Linked DNA regions of Homo sapiens: region 1 is linked to region 2. The links are contacts of gene promoters, found by promoter capture Hi-C in human tissues and cell types (Jung and others, 2019). All regions are on one chromosome and are shown on one strand. The core of a region is centred on a gene start or on the middle of the fragment in contact, and the rest is flanking DNA. Distances in the headings are between cores, read along the strand shown. Region 1 overlaps CHRNB1 (cholinergic receptor nicotinic beta 1 subunit). Region 2 holds the start of TMEM256 (transmembrane protein 256).

What was found. The method cuts DNA at HindIII sites, captures the fragments that hold promoters and counts their contacts. A contact is called where the count stands out against the background at its distance.
Region 1: a fragment that was not itself captured here is called in contact with the fragment with the promoter of TMEM256 in region 2 in 1 of the 25 tissues and cell types used here (dorsolateral prefrontal cortex).

The regions. Positions count from the first base shown.
Region 1 is chr17:7,454,308-7,458,003 of GRCh38, reverse strand. It overlaps CHRNB1 (cholinergic receptor nicotinic beta 1 subunit), which reads right to left. Exons shown (of 11, transcript NM_000747.3): 8 at 3,484-3,696; 9 at 2,548-2,720; 10 at 2,063-2,210; 11 at 294-1,421. The coding sequence ends at 1,281. Among named protein-coding and RNA genes, the nearest start is that of CHRNB1, 11 kb to the right of the region's middle. RefSeq lists enhancers at 1,965-2,124, 2,205-2,284, 1,812-2,313. The HindIII fragment of the contact is 4,047 bases long and covers 1-3,696 here.
Region 2 is chr17:7,402,544-7,406,490 of GRCh38, reverse strand. It overlaps TMEM256 (transmembrane protein 256), which reads left to right and starts at 2,394. Exons shown (of 4, transcript NM_152766.5): 1 at 2,394-2,491; 2 at 2,802-2,833; 3 at 3,101-3,181; 4 at 3,282-3,516. The coding sequence starts at 2,407. The coding sequence ends at 3,425. TMEM256-PLSCR3 (TMEM256-PLSCR3 readthrough (NMD candidate)) reads left to right here and starts at 2,360. Exons shown (of 10, transcript NR_037719.1): 1 at 2,360-2,491; 2 at 2,802-2,833. It also overlaps a transcript of NLGN2 not described here. RefSeq lists a silencer at 1,586-1,915 and an enhancer at 2,406-2,585. The HindIII fragment of the contact is 13,166 bases long and covers 1-3,947 here.

The sequences.
Region 1 (3,696 bases), core at 707-3,206, 52 kb before region 2:
GAGACTCTGTCTTGAAAAAAAATAAAAAATAAAAGTAGTGAACTAGTTCAAATTTAAAACTGTGCAGGCCAAACAAAAAACACACCGTTGCAACCTCTGATACATATCGCATAGTGCTTTTTTCCCATCTCCTGTGATCCCCAGACAATCCTATAGGGCATATGCTATCATTAGTTTCATTTTACAGATGTCGAAACAAGTACAGAGCAAGCTAGTGGCTTGTGTGAGCACCAAGGTTGGAACTTGAATGAAGGCCTTCAAAACGCTTGTTTTTTCTCATTACCAATGCATGCTTGTAGAAATAACTTTTTTTAATCCCAGAGATAGTACACATTACAAAACATAATAAATTACAGAAAGGTAAAAAGAAAACGACCACAAGACCCAACATGCAAACAATAAGCACTACTTTATTTCTATTTTTATTTTTTTAGAGACAGGGTCTCACTATGTTGCCCAGGCTGGTCTCAAACTGTGGGTTTCAAGTAATCCTCCCACCTCAGCCTCCTAAGTCACTGGGATTACTGGCCTGAGCGACCATGCCCAGCTTATAAACATTATTAATTGCTGTATTTACTTCCGGAAATTTCTTTCCCCTATTCAACAAATGTTAAGCACTTACTATAGGTCAGCACCTGTGCGTGGCACTGGGCATGCTGCAGTGAACAAGACACTTTTTTTTTTTTGAGATGGAGTTTCGCTCTTGTTGCCCAGGCTGGAGTGCAATGGCGTGATCTTGACTCACTGCAACCTCTGCCTCCCGGGTTCGAGTGATTCTCCTGCCTCAGCCTCCCTAGTAGCTGGGATTACAGGCATGTACCACCACACCTGGCTAATTTTGTATTTTTAGTAGAGACAGGGTTTCTCCATGTTGGTCGGGCTGGTCTCAAACTCCCGACCTCAGGTGATCCGCCCGCCTTGGCCTCCCAAAGTGCTGGGATTACAGGCGTGAGCCACCGCGCCCGGCCAAGTCACATTTCTTGACCTCATAAGGCTTATAATCTAGTTCCTGTTCTGTGTTCTATTTCACTGGCGACCTAGGTGTTGATACCCAAAAGAGCTTCTTCAAGATCCCAAAGAGTAAATCAGATGATACTGCATTTCAGGTGGGTCCAAGACACCTGCCTACCCAGCCCTCAGTCCAATGCAGTCCCCAGAAACGAAATAAGAGGCCCAGATTCCTCGTGAAGGAGTTAAGAGGCAGAGAAGGATAGGGCTTGACAGTATCACCAAACTCTCACTTCAACTGGCAGGGGGCCTGGGTCTCAACCCTCCAGTCTTCAAGGAAAGGGGTCTGGAGGGGGCAAGTGGTACGTGGCGTCCAGGAAGATGACTAGGGTCCCAACGCTGGTGAAGATGATGAAAGTCCACAGGAAGAGGCGGTCCACTACCATGGCCACAAACTGCCAGTCCTCCTTCAGCTGTGGGTAGGCAAAGGAAACTTCCTGAGCTCTGGGCCCAGACCCCCAGGGAAACCCCCCCATTTCCCCGCCCGCTACCCGCTTGAGTCCTCCTACCACTGGTTTGAGGCAACAGCCGGCAGCGCCAACAGGAGAGCGAGACTGCAGGCAATGCATGGGCATAAAGAACCAGTAGGTAAGCAGGGGGTGGGACCAAATGAGGGAGAGGTCCAATCAGAAACGAAAGCGAGGCCGGGCGCGGTGGCTCACGCCTGTAATCCCAGCACTTTGGGAGGCCGAAGCGAGCGGATCACCTGAGGTCAGGAGTTTCAGACCAGCCTGGCCAACATGGTGAAGCCACGTCTCTACTAAAAATACAAAAATTAGCCAGGCGTGGTGGCGCGCCCCTGTCGTCCCAGCTACTCGGCAGGCTGAGGCAGGACAATCGCTTGAACCCGTAGGCGGAGGTTGCAGTGAGCCGAGATCGAGCCACTGCACTCCAGCCTGGGCGACAGAGCGAGACTCTGTCTCAAAAAAAAAAAAAAAAAAAAAAAGCCAAAAAAAAACCACACAAAAAAAACGAAAGCGAGTGCTGGTGCGGAATTTGGGGGTGGGGCCAAGGTCGCCTAGACCTGGCCTTGTTCCACCCCCGTTGGACATACCGCATCGTGGTCCTCCTGTTCCTGCAGCTGTCGAGCGATGTAGCTGATAGAGGAGACGACCTCCCGTAGCTCCGGAAGCAGGGCCACAGCCCGGTTTGGACCATCGATAAATCGCCGCAGATCAGGGGCAGACAGTTCAGGCTGGAACCTGGAAGAGGAGTGACTGGCCACGCCCAAACGCAAAGACAGCCAGTGCCGGCGACCCAGGCCCCGCTCCAGCTGCCTCCAACAACTTGCCAGTTCTCAAAACCCGAGAGCCCATCATGCTTTTCCCTCCAGCAGTGATCTCTCTAGCCTTGTGCAACTTCTTCCACCGCCTCTGTTTTAGTTCCCACCTCCCCTCAAAGTGAGCAGCAGGAGTACTACAACTCCCATGATGCTCAACCACAGCGTCTTCCGAGAGCATGGGCCGCTTCTTCCGCACACTCTTCTGGGAACTGTAGTTCTCCCTCTCCCTCTTATGTGGGTAACGGGCGTAGTCCTACCTATTGGGTTTGGGGAAGAGAAAATCACTTGGCGGCTTCCGGATGAAATATTCATCTGTTCCCCGACCCCAGCCACTTCCTGGAGAAGAACAGTGAGGGGGCTCCGGCATCAGGTCTCTCTCGGGTTTGGGCCTTTTTAGACGCAGGTACAGCGGAAGTTTGTGAATGAAGATCTGCAGAGTAGAAGAGGCGTATTGGTGGGGGCTTTCATGCTTTCAGACCAGAAGGGAAACAGCCAACCACCCCACTCCACATGCCCATTCCCGCGCGTGAGTATGTGCGTGCATATTCTTCCACAAACGAGCTACACAAGGAAATGCAGCCACACAGACCTAAGAGCTCTTTAGTGGGTTGGGCCTGTCGCGGTGGCTCACGCCTGTAATCGCAGCACTTTGGGAAGCCAAGGCAGGTGGATCACCTGAGGTCAGGAGTTCAAGACCAGCCTGGCCAACATGGTGAAACCCTCTCTCTACTAAAAATACAAAAATTAGCTGGGCGTGGTGGCGGGTGCCTGTAATCCCAGCTACTTGGGAGGCTCAGGCAGGAGAATCGCTGGAACCTGGGAGGTGAAGGTTGCAGTGAGCTGAGATTGTGCCATTGCACTCCAGCCTGGCCACAAGAACAAAACTCCATCTCAAAAAAAAAAAAAAAAAAAAAAAAAAGCTATTTAGTGGGTTGGGAGGTATCCCAACTGGAAAGAGAGGGCTTCCAATCTGATAGTACCTAACCCTAAGAATATTTCCCTGGGACCCGAGATGGGCAGTATTGATGAAGAGAGTATGGGATCTGTGAAATGATAATGATGGGGGCTAGCTTAACTGTGCAACATTTCAACACTCAACAAGCTTGGACACTTCAACACTCTGCCACATAGCTATAGTTCTCCCTATGGTCTGTAAAAGGAAAATTGGGGTTGGAGGAGGAGATCTTTCTTACCTGACGGACCCAAAGGGGCATTTGGTGGGTGTGGGGTGAGCGGTGGTGCAGGTTGAGAACCACGACACTAAGGATGACTGAGAAGGTGACGAGGACCATGGTAAACATGAGGTACTTGATAATAATGGGTACTGATAGTGAGGTCTCAGGTACTTTGTCAGCCAGCAGCAGCAGGAACACAGTAAGGGTCAGCAGGGCAAAGATTGAGAGCCC
Region 2 (3,947 bases), core at 1,145-3,644:
AGGCTCCTCTATTCCTCCATCACCTGGAGGTGGCTCGGGGCTGATTCCCCCAGGATCTCCTTTTCCTGTGCCAGACTGGGCTCAGCTACCATGGCCTTGCTGCCCCCTCCCCCTCCCCACAACAAGATCTGCCTCAGTCACCCTCTCCTCTTGAGGGTACTCTGGGCCCCTGGCCTCCTCCCACCAGCTCCGCTCCCTCCTTCCCTCCCACTGGAGGCCCCCCCATCTCTCTCCTCTCCGTAGTGCTCCCTGGGAGCATCTTTTGTGGGCCTCTTCCAGCTTGCCCCAGCTCTTGCCTTCAGTCTCTCACCCTCGGTCTTTTTACATCTTTCTCTTCTGTATCTCTCTCCTTGGTGTTTCTCATTTCTTTCTCTCTCTCCAAATGCCTTCCCCAAATTTCCCCCTTAAGCCTTCTGTCTCTCTCTCCTGTCTTTCCCCATCACTGTCTCCCCCATTTTCTCTCCTCATCTCTGTCTGCCACATCTTGCTCCCTCCTCCTTCTCCCTATCCCTCTGCCTTCTCTCTCCATTCCTGCCCAGGCCTGACTCCCCCAGCCGGGGAGAGTTGAGGGACGGGGGCTCAGGCCGCAGGCCCCCCCTTCCTGCAGTGGTGAAAATGGCTTGGCTGGGAAGGGGAGAAGGAGGGGGAGGGGGAGATGGGAACACACGGGGTCTGTGGGCCCATTCAAAGGATCATTCATGGACTGGAGAGAGGCAGAGACAAAGAGACCAAGACGCAGAGACACGGCGAGAGCATCCCTAGGCGGAGACACGCAGACAGAGCAGGCTGGGGGAAACCAGGCGCAGGGAGGGAGATGGGGAGAGGGAGACCCCAGTGGACCGCCACGCAGCCCCCTCCACCGACCCGGCTTAGGTCCTACCTGGCTCAGCCCTGGGGCCGTGGTGCCTCCATCCAGGGCTCCGAGTGGGGGGCGAAAGGCCTTCGGGAGGGGGCGGCGGCCTCTGAGCCCCCGCGGCCCCGCAGGCCCAGCCCCCGCCCGCAGCGCCTCACCCGGCGGGGGAGGGGGATCGCCCCAGCCCCGGGGGGCGGGGCCGGGATCCAGTCGATCCCCGGGAAAAGGAGAGCTAGGGGATGGGATCAGGGGGAGCCCGAGAACAGGGAACCCCGCAGTAGGGACGATAGAGAAAGGAGGGGGCAACGGGACAGGACTAGATTGAGGATCCGCTGGTTCCGTGGGCCGGCTTCGAGGGACCAGAAGGCGGTCCAGGCGGAGGATCCTAAGGATCGGGTGCTGGAGGAGGAGTCCACGTTAATCCCCAGGGGCCCGGGGCCCGGGAGCGCAGGATCCGCGGTGCAGGGGCAGGGATCCAGCCGGAATCCTCGGGGAGGGGGAGGGATCTAGTCGATCCCGAGGGCGGGCGTGAGGGGGAGGTCCGGGGAGTCAGAGGAGGGCGGGAGCCGAGTCCAGAGCCCCGGGGCGGGGGTCAGCGCGGATCCTAGGAGGGAAGGCGGGGGTGAGGGGAGGCTTCGAGGGACGCTCAGCAGCCGGGAGGCCCGGACTCCTGGCTCCGCGCGCCAGGGCCGGCCCGCCCCGCGTCCATCCCAGCCCGAGAGTGATGATCCGCCGGCGGAGCAGCCGCAGCAGCCCCGCGCGTCACCGCGCGGCCGCCTCCCCCGCCCCCTGCCGAGAGAGCGGCGCACACCCCCCGCTCGCACCCCCCGCTCGCACCCGCCTGCCCGCCCGCCCTCCGGAGAATGGGGGGATTGGAGATGGTGGGAAGAGGCGGGAGCGGACAGACGGACAGATGGACGTAGCGGGCCAGGGCAGGGTGGAGACATTCCCCCGGATCTCCCACCCTCGGGGCTCTCGCGGTCTCGGAGGGCTGGCGGGGGGGAGAATATCTTAACTACAGGGGGCGGGGCATCATACAAAGAAGGCGGAGCCTTCAGACATGGGGGAGGGGCCATTTGTGCAGTGGGCGGGGTTTACTGGCAATAGGTGGGGCTTTGCTATCTTTCGGGCCGCCTCTTTTTGGTAGTGGGTTTGATTTGAAGCTGAACAGGAGGAGCCTGTGGAAAAAGGGGCGGAACTTTGAGAGAAGACCGGGATCTTTGGAAATTGGCCGGAGCATGGGGGTGGGGGGTTCGAAGAGGCGATCAACTTGGAAAGTGGGCCAATCCTTGACGCAAATCCCCCTAGTCCCGCCCTCAACCCCGCCCCCCCACTGCTTAGCTCCTCTGTTCCTAATTGGTGCTGGTTTCTCCGCCCGCCAGACGTCTTCGCCACTCTGCAGCGGTTTTACAAAGGCGGGTGAAGAGCGCAATGCTGAAATGAACACGGCCCGGATTGGGCGCCTGTGAACCTTATTTGCATGGGCGGTCGGGATTGGCTGGCCTCTTGGGTGGCCTGGGCGGCGTTGGTCCGGTGCGTCCTGTTCTACAGCTATGGCCGGGCCAGCTGCAGCTTTCCGCCGCTTGGGCGCCTTGTCCGGAGCTGCGGCCTTAGGCTTCGCTTCCTACGGGGCGCACGGTCAGGGGGCTGGGGACGAAGATGGGACTGTACTTGGGGCGTCCTCTGGGGTCTGCTGCAAGGGCGTAACCTATGGGAGGTGCCCGGCCTCTCGTTTATCAGACAGTCCGCGGAGCCCTAAACCTTTTAAAGTCCCCCAGCTGGGTCCAATTGGTTCCCAGTACTGCCCGAGCGTGTTCCCACCAATCGGAAGCTTCCTGGGGCGGGGGGGGGGGTGCCCTTTCTCGCCAATGTCCACCTGGGTCCCCCCGGATTGGGGGCGGTCAGGGCTGGCACTAGGACCGCTAACCTTTGCTTCTTTTCTCCACAGGCGCCCAATTCCCAGATGCCTACGGGAAGGAGGTGAAGTAACTGCGCTGGGGCTCCCTGACTCGTGGGTCTACGAAGGCACAAAGTCTGGGGTCCCTGGGGGAAGTGGGCGGGGAGAGGGTGGGGCGAGCCGCGGATCTCTGGAGCAGCAAAGGCCAAAGGCTCTGTAAGCCAAAGGCCTGGGATCAAGCTGGGACTTCAAGGGTGGGGTGGGGGAAGGAACTTTGGTCCCTTGTGTCATCAGGGGATCTCAGTACCTGTATTGCCTACGACATCCCTTCGTTTCTGTTTTTCTTACAGCTGTTTGACAAGGCCAACAAACACCACTTCTTACACAGCCTGGCCCTGTTAGGGGTGCCCCATTGCAGAAAGCCACTCTGGGTAATCTTTCCCTGCGCCTAACCCTGACCAAGCCCCACACACTCCCTCTCAGCCTGCCCTGTTCTTAACAATCCTGTTTTCTGTGCTGTGTCTCCTTCAGGCTGGGTTATTGCTAGCTTCCGGAACGACCTTATTCTGCACCAGCTTTTACTACCAGGCTCTGAGTGGAGACCCCAGCATCCAGACTTTGGCCCCTGCGGGAGGGACCCTGCTACTCTTGGGCTGGCTTGCCTTGGCTCTTTGAGCTCCCTTTTGCTTAATTACTGGGTTTTCTGGGCAGTTTTTTTTTTAAAGAGTTGGAGTAAGAAGAGGATTAAAAAGGAAAGGCAAATAAACTTTGGAGTCTTTGTTCATCTAACCTCTTGGAGGACGAAGGGTGGGGATTCAACCTCTGAACTCCCTCCATTTCCTAAGACTTAATCAGTGAGCCTTAGGTCTGGGGATTCTGGTCACTTTAAGTTAACTTATTATAATGTTCTTACCCTGGTGGGCATCAAAGTCATAAAGAATGCTTGAAATAACACAGATTCCTACTGAAGCACTCTTTCGGGCCTGAGAATCTGTATTTTAATAAGCTCATCTTGTGGTTCTGATGCATACTAGGTTTTTAATTTTATTATTATTATTATTATTATTTTGAGATGGAGTCTTGCTCTGTCGCCCAGGCTGGAATACAGTGGCGCGACCTCGGCTCACTGCAACCTCTGCCTCCCAGGTTCAAGCGATTCTCCTGCCTCGGCCTCCTGAATAGCTGGGATTACAGGCG